2 separate regions of the Homo sapiens genome follow, and region 2 is linked to region 1. Evidence: promoter capture Hi-C in human tissues and cell types (Jung and others, 2019). All regions are on one chromosome and are shown on one strand. The core of a region is centred on a gene start or on the middle of the fragment in contact, and the rest is flanking DNA. Distances in the headings are between cores, read along the strand shown. Region 1 holds the start of ITGB7 (integrin subunit beta 7). Region 2 overlaps EIF4B (eukaryotic translation initiation factor 4B).

Region 1 (7,259 bases), core at 3,452-5,951:
AGGGGCAGTTGAGAAAGGTTAGGGAGATGGCCTTAAGGGCCATGTGCCTCTGTCCTCCTGAGCCTCTCTCTTTCTCTCTCCATTGTAGGAGCTGAAAGGGCCATTACTCTGAAGATGGAGATTCCAGGCCCGATGCCTCCCTTAATCCGAGAGATGCTGGAGAACCCTGAAATGTTTGAGGATGACTCCTCGCAGCCTGGTCCCCACCCCAATGCCTCTAGCGAGGATGAGGTTCCTGGGGGCCAGGGCAAAGGGGGCCTGAAGTCCCCAGCCTGACCAGGGCCCCTGACCTCCCCGCTGTGGGGGTTGGGGCTTCAGGCAGCAGACTGACCATCTCCCAGACCGCCAGTGACTGGGGGAGGACCTGCTCTGCCCTCTCCCCACCCCTTCCAATGAGCTCCTTGTTTTTGCCAAAGTTTCTAGGGGTGCCTCTGTGTTCATCCCCTTCCTGATCTAACCGGCTCCCTCGCCAGTCCCGGGGGCCTGCCCTGCTCCCACCAGGAGAGAGGGCAAAGGGATGAGCCTGGGTTTGGACTCTAAAATCTCAGCACTGCCCCATGGGTCCTAGACTTCCCAGGGCAAGAGGAAGACCCTGCCATTCCACAGCCCCTTCCTCTGCCAGGTGCTTGGCTCTCTGAGAGCAAACAGGAACACTAGAGACCAAAAAGGGGACAAAGGAGAAGGGCTGAGCCCACCTTCTTGCTCCTACCCTTGGTGCCTAATGCTGTGTGATGCACCTGCAGGGTGTGTGCTAGCCTCTGTGCCCCGTCCTTGTGCCAGGTCAAGGTGGGGGCAGGCTGGGCCCTGCATTTCTGGGGCAGGAACAGAGGGTGAAAGGGACAGATAGATGCAGGTCCATTCTGCACCTCTTGGCTCGGGTGCAGAGTTCACCCTGTGCCCTCCGTTATAAGTCCCTCCCCCAGCCCTGTCATGTGCCTTGGGCTCCTCCTGCCCTCCATCTCAGCCATTGGGGCAGGGACCCTCCTACACTACAGAGGGGCCAGGGGATCCCTCTCTCCCTAGTGCCTTCCACCCTTTACTCCCCAGAGCAGCTTGGCCCAGGGAGGGGGGATGCTGCTTAGCTGATCCCGCCCTGACCCAGAGGAAGCCTCTATTTATTTATTAGCTTTTGTTTACACCGTGGAATTGACCCCTTCCTCCAGGGGTCTTGGGTGGGGGAGCCCAGGGCCCCTGTGACCCCTCCTTTCTTCCTCCAATCCCCAGTTTGTATTTAGCTGCCAAATAAGATTCCCATTGGCTCCCTGTGTTCTCTTGGGGGGTCAGGGTGCTGTCCCCTCCCCTCTGTTTACATCTCCCCTCTACCCCGCTGTATCGCATATTGCTGAGTTTTCTATTTTTGCAAAATAAAGTGATGGAAACTCATGAGATGTGGCTCCCTTTAGGAGGTGGTAGGGAAATGACCAGCTGACCTGGTGAGGGAGCTGAGTGAGGAGGGAAAGCTTGTAATTGATTGGACTTTGCAGCTTTCTTGGTAGAAGAAAACAGGATGAAGTGTGCCTGGATTGTGGTGGGGACAGGATGGGGGAAAGGGAGCCCATGGGGACTCACCCTGAGTGACCGGGTTTCCCACAACCACCAGGTGTGGGTTCAGAATCTCACTCTGTCGCCCATGCTGGAGTGCAGTGGTGTGATCTCGGCTTACTGTAACCTCCACTTCCCAGGTTCAAGCAATTCTCTTGCCTCAGCCTCCCGAGTAGCTGCAATTACAGGGGTGCACCACCACGCCCAGCTAATTTTTTTTATTTTTAGTAGAGACAGGTTTCGCCATGTTGGCCAGGCTGGTCTCGAACTCCTGACCTCAGGTGATCCGCCTGCCTTGGACTCCCAAAGTGCTGGGATTACAGGCGTGAGCCACTGCGTCTAGCTTGGTGTGGGTTCTTATGTTGGATCCTGTGGATCTCTGGGAGGGCATGAATGGACTTCAGAGGTCTGTAAGCCTGTCTCCACCTCCAGTTATGCATATGTGCATATCTGCTTTTCTCTGGGGAAGGAGTCCATTGAAGTTTTATTTATCTTTTTGTTTTTCATTTTTTTTCTTGAGACGGAATTTCACTCCTGTTGCCCAGTCTGGAGTGCAGTGGTGTGATCTTGGCTCACTGCAACTTCTGCCTCCCGGGTTCAAGCGATTCTCCTGCCTCAGCCTCCCAAGTAGCTGGGATTACAGGGGCGCACCACCATGCTCAGCTAATTTTTGTATTTTTAGTAGAGATGGGGTTTCACCATGTTGGCTAGGCTGGTCTCGAACTCCTGACCTCAAGTGATCCACCTACTTCAGCCTCCCAAAGTGTTGAGATTACAGGCGTGAGCCACCATGCCTGCCCTGAAGTTTCATTTAGTTCTCATGAGGGCTCCTGGCCCCAGAAGAGAAGAAGCCCGCATCTAAGCTACAGTGTTACTGTTTTACACCAGCCCCTCACCCAGGGAGCCCTCTGGCCTTCTGTCCCCAACCACCCTGCTATCACCTTATACCTTACTCCCCCCACCCTCTCTGTTCCCACTCTTCACCCCATGACCTCCACTCACTGCCACCTGCACTGTTACCTTCTTTCCGAATATCTGTCCTTGCTCCCACACGCCTTCCCTCTGCAACACGCCTTTGCAGTGCCTTTGGCCTCTACTGCTGCACCCTGTACTCTTCCCTTCGCCCTCTGTGACTCCCCTCAAGCCCCTCCTCCGTGTCCTACCTTCCCTGGGACAGTGCCTTGCCTACCTTGTTCCTGGCTCTCTTCATTGGTGACCTGTGGTTATGACAAAAAAGTTGAGGATGTGGGAGTAGGGGAGAGAAGAGTGGAGGGCGGAAAGCAGAAGAAGAAAGTGAAAGAAGCTCTAGAGGAAACCACAGGGCCTGTGGGGAAGGAGGGTCATTGCCGTGGTAACCCCTGGTTGTGGGGGAAGGGTATAGGTCCTGGCTATCCCATAGCCTGAGGCCAGCCAAGCCCACCCAGAGAAAGAGCCCCTCCTCTCCAATTGTCCCCTCCTAGCAGCTACACCTCTGCAATCCATCTGACATTTATTGAGCACCTACTATAAGATGGGCACTTGGCTAGGTGTGGTGGCTCCAGCAGGGAAGCCTTGTAGAGCCAGTCCCTGCCTACAAGGAGTGCTCCTTCTGGTAGGGGAGATCGACCTGTGAACACAGACCTCATGTCTAGTTCCCTCTCAAAGCTCTTAGTGATCTGTATGGGCCAGGAGCAAATCCCATTAATATTTTCCTGCTCTCCCTACGGGCTTCATCCTTGCCTTGGCTTCAGCTGTTGTTCCTGCACTCTCTGCTTCTCCCAGTTCACCTCCTCCACCCCTTTCCCAGGATCCACTACTGTGTTGGCTCCTGGTTCCCCAATCACATGCTCTGAGCCTGGCCCTATGCCTCTCTCTTCCAAGTTTCCAGTTGTGTGGACCTTGAATTTCTCAAAGCCTCTTCACTTCTCACCTCTGCTACTTCTCATCCCTACTAATTCTCTTATCAAGCCCTTACTTAGTATGTGCCAGGTAGTCTTGTAGGCAATTGATATGAATTATCTCTTTTAATTCTCACGACAATCCTGTGAGTCTTGCTGGACAGATGAGAAAACAGCTGCAGGCAGGTTTAAGTAACTCAGCTAAGCTCCTTACTACTAGTAAGTAGTAGAGCCAGGATTTGAACTCTAGCAACTTGGCTCCAGAGCCTATGTAGTCAAGCACACTTATATAATGTATCCTGGGTTTTCAAAATGAACAAGTCTGTAATTTCTGGCCTCTCTACAGTACTTACTGCCCCTATTCCCTCCTATCATGTTCCTTCCTATATAAGTAAATGGAGAGATCATGAATTTTGGAGGCAGGCAGACCTGGATTTAAATCCCAGACCAGCCGAGTGTGCCTGTAATCCCAGCTACTCAGGAGGCCAAAGTGGGAGGATTGCTTGAGTCCAGGAGTTACAGACCAGCCTGGGCAACACAGCAAGACCCTGTCTCAAAAATAAAAAACAGGCTGGGCATGGTGGCCCACACCTGTAATCCCAGCACTTTGGGAGGCCGAGGTGGGCAGATCAATTGAGGTCAAGAGTTTGAGACCAGCCTGGCCAACATGGTGAAACCCCGTCTCTATTAAGAATATAAAACGTTGCTGGGCATGGTAGTGCACCCCTGTAATCCCAGCTATTCGGGAGGCTGAGGCAGGAGAATCGCTTGAACCTGGGAGGCGGAGTTTGCAGTGAGCTGAGATTGTGCCATGGGACAGTGAGCTGAGATTGTGCCTGGGAAACAGAGCAAGACCCTGTCTCAAAAGTTAAATTAAATTAAAATAAAAAAAATAAAATAATAAAAATTTAAAATAAAAATCTTTTTTCTTTTTTTTTTTTAAATCCTAGACTAGCTACTTACTAGCTGTGGGACCTTGGGCAAAATTCTTTATTTCCTGCTTCCAAGCCTCAATCTCTGCATCTGTAAAATTGGGGCTTGGGGGAATATTAACCCCTATCTTATGAGATTGTTGTGAGGGTTAATTGTAATATGTTACGTTCAACACATGACAGGGGTTCAATAAATGGGCTTCTTTCTTCCAGATCTCTGTATTGTCCACTCCCTTGGCTCAGCCCCACCCCTATCTGCACCACCTTCTAGATCAGTCACCCCCACCAACCCCAAATCTTCCCCACCCTGGGGAGTGTCACTTCCTCCTCTGCCGTCTCCCAGATCAGTACACAAAGGCTGCTGCTGCCGCCAGAGGAAGGACTGCTCTGCACGCACCTGTGAGTACCAGGGCACCAGCCCTTCTGCCTCCTCTCCTTACAAGCTCTGGCCCACCTGGTCCCAACCTCTTGGGAAGAGGGCTCTGACCTGGATACCGAGGGTCCTGTCCAGACTTGAGAAAGGCTCTGAACTCCTTTCTGCATTCCTAAGATCCCCTGACCTGGTTCCCTCCTCCAGTTTCACAGTACCCCCACCTCCACCTCTCCAAAAGCCCAATCTCTCCTGCATCAGTTTCCCATGAGTGGGTCTGGAGGCAGGGATGTATATGAGTGCTGTCATCTGAGTGCCTGCCATGTGCCAAGGACTATACCGAAGTAGGGCAGGTATACCGATTATACTGAGGGAGGGTTCTTCCAACATCACCCCCAGCTGCTATCCCTAATGCTCTGCCTTCAGCTCAGACTTCTTCCTAATCGGCACCTTGGTCACAGACTCCACTGTCCTGGGACACTGAGGCCCAGCAGCTCAGTTCCGTCCCCTCCTTGTGACTCCCAGTGGGCAGCAGAGGGTTCTGCTTGATTTGGAAGGTAGGGATGGGTTTGGAAGAGGCTCTGTTTCTCAGCTGCTGAGGGGGGTCACAGGGTGTGTACTGGAGTCAGAATGGAGTCCAGAAAAATGGAAATAACCACTTGGTCCCAGAGAGAGAAGGGAAGACTGCAGAATACCCCTAAGGAAAGAGAAATGGGATTAGGCAGAGCCCACCAGGGCTAGTGGGGAGAGAACACAACTTTTGATGGAGATAGTGCCTGGGTTGGAGGGAGGAAAGGAGAAAGCACAGCAGAGGCCTGGCCCTGCCCTGTCCTGCCCTGCCCCTAGTTCACTGGGTGACCCTGGCCTCATGGAATTTAGGTTTCCATTTGTAAAAAGAGTGGGATGGAGTAGTAGATTCAGCCATTCTATAGTTAGGAACAGAGGGGAAAAGGAAGTAAAATAGCCCTATGAAGAAGTGGAGCAGAGAAAAGCAGCAGAGAGATGCAATAGAAGTTTTGAAATGAAAGGAGCCAGAGAGAGACAGAGAAGCAGACAGAGAAATAGGTGGCAGAACATGTATTCTCAAGGAGGGGAGAAGAGAGGATAATTGGAAAGAAAGGTAGGAAAGGGCTGTCCAGGAAGTCCCAGGGCCCCCTTTAAGGGGAGATGAGTGGGCCTAAGGTCTCTGAAAAACCTATGCGGCAGCCGGGGCTCCACTTGTGAGAGATGAGTCAAAACCCGGCTTTGGGTTGCAGCATCTCCAGCCTCCCTGACCACAGGCATGCAGAGCAAGCAGGGCTGAGGTTACGCTGAGGCTGAGCTGGGACTGGCCTCTCCCCGAGGGGTGGAGGCTCCGTTATATATGGCGCCTGAGGTCACAGGTGGTGGGGAGCAGGACCAGGACATTCAAGGACTCAACACCCCACCCCTTTCCCACACTCTGTGCAGAGTATCTGGACCTGACTCTGGGCCCAGGCTGAAGAAGATGCAAATGGTTTATGACAAGGAGTTAGTTGGCCTTTCTCATACATTGCTGATGGGAATGTGGACCAGTACAAGTCCTGAAGAGTTTATGTTGGCAATACCCACCTATATATATATATTTCTTAGCATGAGAATGTAGATGAAATACACACCAGTATTACAAATGATACCTATCTAGTTATCCTGCACGTCCTCTGCTAGGGATTTATCCTACAGATTCAGTTGCAGACGTGTGAAATGATAAATACATGACATTTGGCTGGGGGTGATGGCTCACGCCTGTAATCACGGCAATTTGGGAGGCCGAGGCAGGTGGGTCGCTTGAGCTCAGGAGTTCTAGACCAGCCTGGGCAACATGGGGAAGCCCCATCTCTGCAAAATAATACAAAAATAATTAGCCAGACATGGTAGCATGCGCCTGTAGTACCAGCTACTCGGGAGGCTGAGGTGGAAGGATCAATTGAGCCGGCAAGGTCAAGGCAGCAGTGAGCCATGATTGCACCAGTACACTACAGCCGGGTGACAGAGCAAGACCCTATCTCTCAAATGAATAAATAAATAAATACATACATTACTTTTCATTTCAGCATTATTTGTCATAGGGAACTAGAAACAATTTAAGGCCAGGCACAGTGGCTCATGCCTGTAATTCCAGCACTTTGGGAGGCCGAGGTGGGTGGATCACTTGAAGTCAGGGGTTCGAGACCAGCCTGGCCAACATAGTGAAACTCTGTCTCTACTAAAAACACAAAAATTAGCTGGGTGTGGTGGCTCACACCTGTAATCCCAGCTACTCAGGAGGATGAGGCACACGACTCACTTGAACCCAGGAGGCAGAGGTTGTACATCACGCCACTGCATTCCAGCCTGGTCGACAGAGTGGGACTCTGCCAAAAAAAAAAAAAAAAAAAAGGTAAAGAAAAAAGAAACAAAGATAGTAGTAAATGATATTTATTTAGGGTAGGTGTGGGAACTGGGTATGGCATATGGAGTAGGAGATTTCTCACCATCTTATTTAACTTTTTGATTTTTAAAATGGTAAGATACACAAAC
Region 2 (7,259 bases), core at 1,529-4,028, 170 kb after region 1:
GACTCCTTCCAGTGGTCTCTGTTCCCTCCGTCGCCTGGACCACGGCTAGAGTTCCCAGTTTGGCCTTTTGGGGCATTCATCCCATCTACTTTATTTTCATCTGCTTGGGCAGTAATGTAAACAAATTAAAGGCAAGTAAAAGTATCAATGTCCCTCTCCTAAGATTTCCCTTAAGCTGAAGAAAATTGTGCCCACATGTACTGAGGGAAACTAACCTCACCCCAACCCAGACTTCCTTCCTGAAGCCCTTCTTTCCACATCCTCTACAGCACACAAAAATACAAAAAACAAACAAAATCCACTAAAAAGTTCCATGTAGGGATATGCCATCATGAAAAGCAAGCTGGAAATAAAGATTATGACGCTCTGTAGTGACCTTGGTTAATTTCCTTCCGATTTTTTTCTCCCCGTCAAAGAAATGTTCTACCAGGAAAGGGCAGGGTTTCATACTTTCTCCAAAGAGGCCACTCCTCCCTCTACTGGCAAGAAAAGGTAGATAACCCAATAATTCTTTTTTTTTTGAGACAGAGTCTTGCTCTGTCGCCCAGGCTGGAGTGCAGTGGGGCCATCTTGGCTTACTGCAACCTCCGTCTCCCGGGTTCAAGCAATTCTCCTGCCTCAGCGTCTCCCGAGTAGCTGGGATTACAGGCATGTGCCACCACACCCGGCTAATTTTTTTTGTATTTTTAATAGAGACGGGGTTTCACCATGTTGGTAAGGCTGGTCTCAAACTCCTGCCCTGTGATCTGCCCGCCTTGGCCTCCCAAAGTGCTGGGATTACAGGTGTGAGCCCCTGCGCCTGGCCAACCCAAGAACTCTTAACACGGTATCAGGTGCGAGACACACTGCTCTTCAAAATCTAATTTTGGAGGCCTTTTTATTTAGGCTTCTAGGTGAAAAACCTATTTCCCATACTATGAGCTCACCTTTCCTTCCTGGTCCTTCCTCAGATGGTTGAGCTGGAGCTACTTTTCCCCCACCACTAGAAGGAAAACAGGTAATCACATTCATCAGTTGTTTCAGGGAGAAAACAACCAAGAAACATAATCATCCTCCAAATGCAGTGGGTAAGCTTTATAGAAAACAAAATCATACTCAATGTTATGGAACATTAAAATATGGGAAAGATTACAATGAAAGCAGTAATTTGAACACTAAAGTGCCATATGCTTTCTAATCATCACATCATGCAGGATTAGTATTGCTATTTTCTTTTCTTTTGGAGTCTTAACTCTGTCGCCCAGGCTGGAGTGCAATGGCACATCTCGGCTCACTGCAACCTCCGCTCTCAGGTTCAAGCAATTCTCCTGCCTCAGCCTCCCGAGTAGCTGGGATTACAGGTACCTGCCACCACGCCAGGCTAATAGTGTTGCTATTTTGCTTACAAATGAGAAGACTTAAGAGAAATGAAAGGAAGTTACCCCCTACCATACTGCCAATATGTGGCAAAAGGGAAGCCTCTGACTTACAGTATTTGCAGATTTGTGCGGCATTAGTACTCCCATCATAGCTGATTTCAAGCTATCAAAGTGGTGGAACTCCAGAAAATGGAACAACTAGGTCTTATGAGCCAGTTCCAGCACACTAAGAGACTAAAGCCAGCATAACTTATAAGGTGCTATACAACGCTGGCATCCCGTAGGAGATCTTCCATCATTACATCACAGTATTTTAGAATCTGCAGTTAACCAACTACTGTTTCCAAACTGACTCACCTTGTAGGGGACTGCTGCTCTGTGTCTGAGCTCTGAGATCGAGCAGGAGGGTTAGAACTTCGCTTCACCCAAGCATTCTCCTTTGGTGGAGGGGCTGGCATTACCTTTAGGGGCTGATCAGGTTTGGGAGGTTTAGAAGTTGGAGAGTGGCAATCTTCCTCCTTATTGAGTGTTTCATTTTCTAGAGACTTCTCACTCTCTCTCCTTCGTGCATCTGTGAAGCCAGAGTGAAAATATCAAATTATCAGGCTGCAGATGCTCACGCATCTACCAGGATCTCAACAGTGTGGAAAATGGTCCACATCCAAGTTTTGGCTCCCAAAGATGGATTTATCCCTAAACCAGTGGTTTACAAGTATTTCCAGAACAATGTCTTACTGATGCACAGAGAAATAGAAAAAATAATGACCATGTATACAACTTAAGGGACACCCAGCCATGTGACCTTTTTAGGAATGAGTATCCTTTACAGCCTTTCTGCATTCTCAATGTTAAAAGTGTCTTGACCTGGAGAATATACATATGTGAAGAGGACCTACAATGAAACCCCAAACTCTAGTAACCACTGCTCAACTTCAGCTTAAAACTCAACACACATGGACTATGATGCAATCATATTTATGAAAAACCACCTACTGGCTGGGTGCAGTGGCTCTCGCCTGTAATCTTAGGATATTGGGAGGCTGTTGGGGGCGGATCGTTTGAGCCTAAGAGTTTCAGACCAGCCTGGACAACATGGTGAAACCCCAGCTCTACAAAAAATAGACAAATTAGCTGGATGTGGCATGTGCCTGCAGTCCCAGCTACTAGAAATGATGAGGTGAGCTGTGATCATGTTGCTGCACTCCAGCCTGGCTGACAGAGTGAGACTCCATCTCAAAAAACAACAACCTACACGTGCGTTTTTTAAAAAATGCAGTTAAGTGTCTTCTAAAAACAAGGAGCCCCCATTGGGAGGCTGAGGCAGGATTGCTTGAGGCCAGGAGTTTGAGACCAGCCTGGGGAGTGTAGTGAGACCCCATCTCTAAAAAAACAAATTTTTTAAATTTAGCCAGGCATGGTTGCGTGCACCCGTCGTATAACAGCTACTTGGGATATTGGGGCAAGAGGATTGCTTGAGGCCAGGAGTTTGAGGCTGCAGTGAGCTATGATCGCACCACTGCACTCCAGCCTGGGTGAGAATGAAACCCTGTCTTAAAAATAAAAAACTAGGCCGGGCACGGCGGCTCACGCCCGTAATCCCAGCACTTTGGGAGGCCAGGGCGGGCAGATCACAAGATCAAGAGATGGAGACAATCCTGGCCAACATGGTGAAACCCCGTCTTTACTAAAAATACAAAAAATTAGCCAGGCCTGGTGGCAGACTCCTGTAATCCCAGCTACTCGGGAGGCTTGGGCAGGAGAATCACTTGAACCCGGGAGGCAGAGGTTGCAGTGTGCTGAGATCATGCCATTGCACTCCAGCCTGGGCAAAAAGAGCGAAACTCCGTCTCAAAATAAATAAATAAAATACAAAAATAAAAAATAAAAAAAATAGAAGGCCAGGCATGGTGGCTCACGTCTGTAATCCCAGCACTTTGGGAGGCCGAGACGGGTGGATCATGAGGTTAGGAGTTTGAGACCAGCCCGTTCAAAAAATTAGTCGGGCATGGTGGCGCTCACCTGTAATCCCATCTACTCAGGAGGCTGAGGCAGGAGAATTGCTTGAACCAGGGAGTCAGAGGTTGCAGTGAGCCAAAATCGTGCCACTGCACTCCAGCCTGGTAACAGAGCGAGACTCCATCTCAATAAATAAATAAATGAATGAAATGCAAGTACAAATCAATTTAGAGGTGGGAGGAAAGACCTTAAAAAATATCACAGTGGCTGGCCCTTGGAATCCCAGCACTTTATGAGGCTGAGACCAGCCTGGGCAACATGGGGAAACCATCTCTACAAAATTTTAGCTGGGTGTAGGCTGGGTGCGGTGGCTGACGCCTGTAATCCCAGTACTTTGGGAGGCCGAGTCGGGTGGATCATGAGGTCAGGAGATTGAGACCATCCTGGCTAACACAGTGAAACCCCATCTCTACTAAAAATACAAAAAATTAGCTGGGTGTGGTGGTGGGCACCTGTAGTCCCAGCTACTCGGGAGGCTGAGGCAGGAGAATGGCATGAACCCGGGAGGCAGAACTTGCAGTAAGCCGAGATCGCGCCACTGCACTCCAGCCTGGGCGACAGAGCGAGACTCGGTCTCAAAAAAAAAAGAAAATAAATAAATAAAAAATTTAGCTGGGTGTAGTGGTGCATGCCTACAGTTCCAGCTACTAGGGAGGCTGAGGGCTGAGGGAGGTGAGGCTACAGTGAGCCATCATCATGCCACTGCACTCCAGCCTGTGTGACAGAGTAAGACCCTGTCTCAAAACAAAATACAAAAAAAACACATCATGGTAAGGGAAGGGAGGTATTACAATTGAACCATTTAGGTTTCCAAAACACTAAAAGTGCTTGATCAACCAGTAATAACACTGCTTGAGAACACTGCTCTGGTGATGATAACATCAAAAAAGGCTGGTCTTGGGACAGCTCACATGAAACTCCAAGCCGTTGACTGTTCTGAATAAACAACATTCAAAGATGTCAAGACATAAAATGAAAATATACCAAAAAAAAAAAAAAAAAAAAAAGAGAGAGACAAACCTAACAACCAAGTATACACTTCAGTGGTAGATTATTAAGCAGATCATCTAGGTCTACTCTGGTACCCATTCCTCAGATTCTTTGGAGCAGAAGATATGAAACTCCAATCGGCCCATGCAACCCAAATAAAGAGTTCATGACTGAATTTAAATATTGCAGGGTCTCTGCATAATTTGGTTATGGATAGTTTATGGAAAACGGCAATAACACGATACCCACCCTGGTCTGACTTACTTCTGCTAGATGTGGTGGAGGTCCCAGTTTGTGATGACTCACTTCCTGTCCTCGACCGTTCCCGTTCCTGAGTTTCTTCACTTCGCCAGCTTGGGTGTCTGTACGAGAGATTCACAAAATACACATTATGCCTGGCTCAGTGAAGGCCACCTTAGACCCATGCTGACCCCTCAAGAACCATCACTTACTTCATCTATATGTGTATATGCATATAAATTTATCTTTCCCTCAAACTATTTGAAAGCTACAGACATTAAGACACACTTTGGCCCTAAATACTTCAGCAAGAATCAACTAATATGGTTAAGAACAGTATCCTACATAATCTACAATACTGCCCTTCTTTACTAATCAACACAGTTCTACAAGCCACTCATTACCAGGCCTAGTTTTTCAGGGCAATTACTTATTATAGTAGGTCTCTAGCCTTTTAGATACAATACCAGCTTTTAATAGTAAACACTTTTGTAATGGACAGGGAACAACTCTTCATTGTGTAAAACTGTCCCTAACACTGCATACTGCCTAACACCCCTGGCCACAGCCCACTAAATGCCCATCAGTGACAACCACTAATGTGATAACGACACAAATTTCCCAAATGCCCCTGGGGATGTAATGCCCCCATTACGAACCACCGGATTCCTAGATGGGATATCCATCAAGACAACACACCTCTCCCGAGGCCGTCGTTCTAGTTTTGGCTCATCCAGCTGACGCTGCAACTTCTCTTGTTCCTTCTGTAGCCGTTCTTCTACTTCTCTTTCTCTAGCAGCTGTGTCAACAGGCTTTGCCCCTCCAAAGATAGAAGCAGCTCGAGTGGACTGGGAGGTACTAGCAGAGGAATCATCTTCCTTAGGAGTACTCCGAGGCTTTAGATTCAGTTTGGGTCTTTGGGGGGGACCTAAGTTAAATGAAACTTTAAGTAATAGTTTTCCAATCACCAGAAGCTGATGGCTGAAAGCCAGATTTCTCAGATATAACTCCTATGAAATGCTACATGAGATTCAAGTTAGTGGCCTAACCAATCCACAGAAGGCAAATAGATCATTAGAAAACAGGTAGTTTAGGCTGGGCATGGTGGCTCACGCCTGTAATCCCAGCACTTTGGGAGGCCGAGGCGGGTGGATCACAAGGCCAAGAGATCGAGACTATCCTGGACAACATGGTGAAACCCCGTCTCTACTAAAAATACAAAAATTAGCTGGGCGTTGGGGCGCGCACCTGTAGTCCCAGCTACTCAGGAGGCTGAGGCAAGAGAATTGCTTGAACCTGGGAGGCAGAGGTTGCAGTGAGCCAAGATCGAGCTACTGCACTTCAGCCTGGTGACAGAGCAAGGCTCCGTCTCAAAAATAAAAAAAAGAAAAAAAAAAAAGAAAATAGGTAGCTCAGGCTGGGCGTGGTGGCTCACGTCTGTAATCCCGATACTTTGGGAGGCCGAGGCGGGTGGATCACCTGGGGTCGGGAGTTCGAGACCAACACAACCAACATGGAGAAACCCCGTCTCTAGTAAAAATAAAAAATTAGCCAGGCATGGTGGTGCATGCCTATAATCCCAGCTACTCGGGAGGCTGAGGCAGGAGAATCGCTTGAACCTGGGAGGCAGAGGTTGTGGTGAGCCAGGATCGCACCACTGCACTCCAGCCCTCCAGGCTGGAAAACAAAAGCAAAACTACGCCTAAAATAAATAAATAAAAATAAATAAAAATAAAAATAGGTGGCATAAATAACCAAGTTCTGGCCGGGCGCAATGGCTCACGCCTGTAATCCCAGCACTTTGGGGGGCTGAGGCGGGCGGATCACCTGAGATCAGGAGTTCGAGACCAGCCTGACCAATATGGAGAAACCCCATCTCTACTAAAAATACAAAATTAGCCAGGAGTGGTGGCACATGCCTGTAGTCCCAGCTACTCAGGAGACTGAGGCAGGAGAATCGCTTGAACCCACCGGGGAGGCGGAGGTTGCAGTGAGCTGAGAACACACCACTGCACTCCAAACTGGGCAACAAGTGCCAAACTCCATCTCAAAAAAAAAAAAAAACAAAAAAACCCAAGTTCAATTACTCTTCTACCACATCCATGATGTAGTACAAGACCACAGGAAAGACTAAAAATGGTAAACATTTAAGTAATAAATTAATAATCTATCAAGACTTCTTTTATATGGGAAGAAATTTTTGACCATCATTAAACTACTGGATGAAAGTATCTTGCTCCGAAATCTGCATGTTAAGAACTAATACAATATGATAGGGAAGATTCTAGTTCTTTATTTTTTTTGAGACAGTCTCGCTCTGTCACCCAGGCTGGAGGGCAGTGGTGTGATCTCAACTCACTGCAACCTCTGCCTCCCTGATTTTCCTGCCTCAGCTTCCTCAGTAGCTGGGAGTATAGGCACGTGGCACCATGCCCAACTAATTTTTGTATTTTTAGTAGAGATGGGGCTTCACCATGTTGGCCAGGCTGGTCTTGAACTCCCGACCTCAAGTGATCCGCTTGCCTTGGCTTCCCAAAGTGCTGTTACAGATGTGAGCCACCACGCCCAGCCAGGAAGACTCTAGATCTTATACCCTTGTCTCTGTGTATAATATAAATTTGGCAGGTGGTTCATGGGGCAAAGCATGTAACACTG

Evidence for each region. The method cuts DNA at HindIII sites, captures the fragments that hold promoters and counts their contacts. A contact is called where the count stands out against the background at its distance.
Region 2: a fragment that was not itself captured here is called in contact with the fragment with the promoter of ITGB7 in region 1 in 1 of the 25 tissues and cell types used here (dorsolateral prefrontal cortex).

The regions. Positions count from the first base shown.
Region 1 is chr12:53,204,693-53,211,951 of GRCh38, reverse strand. It overlaps ITGB7 (integrin subunit beta 7), which reads left to right and starts at 4,701. Exons shown (of 16, transcript NM_000889.3): 1 at 4,701-4,750. RARG (retinoic acid receptor gamma) reads left to right here. Exons shown (of 10, transcript NM_000966.6): 10 at 89-1,383. The coding sequence ends at 276. RefSeq lists an enhancer at 6,572-6,661. The HindIII fragment of the contact is 22,503 bases long and covers 1-7,259 here.
Region 2 is chr12:53,032,079-53,039,337 of GRCh38, reverse strand. EIF4B (eukaryotic translation initiation factor 4B) reads right to left here. Exons shown (of 15, transcript NM_001417.7): 9 at 5,304-5,532; 10 at 4,629-4,726; 11 at 1,716-1,929; 12 at 927-982; 13 at 1-100. Among named protein-coding and RNA genes, the nearest start is that of TNS2, 14 kb to the left of the region's middle. The HindIII fragment of the contact is 9,298 bases long and covers 1-7,259 here.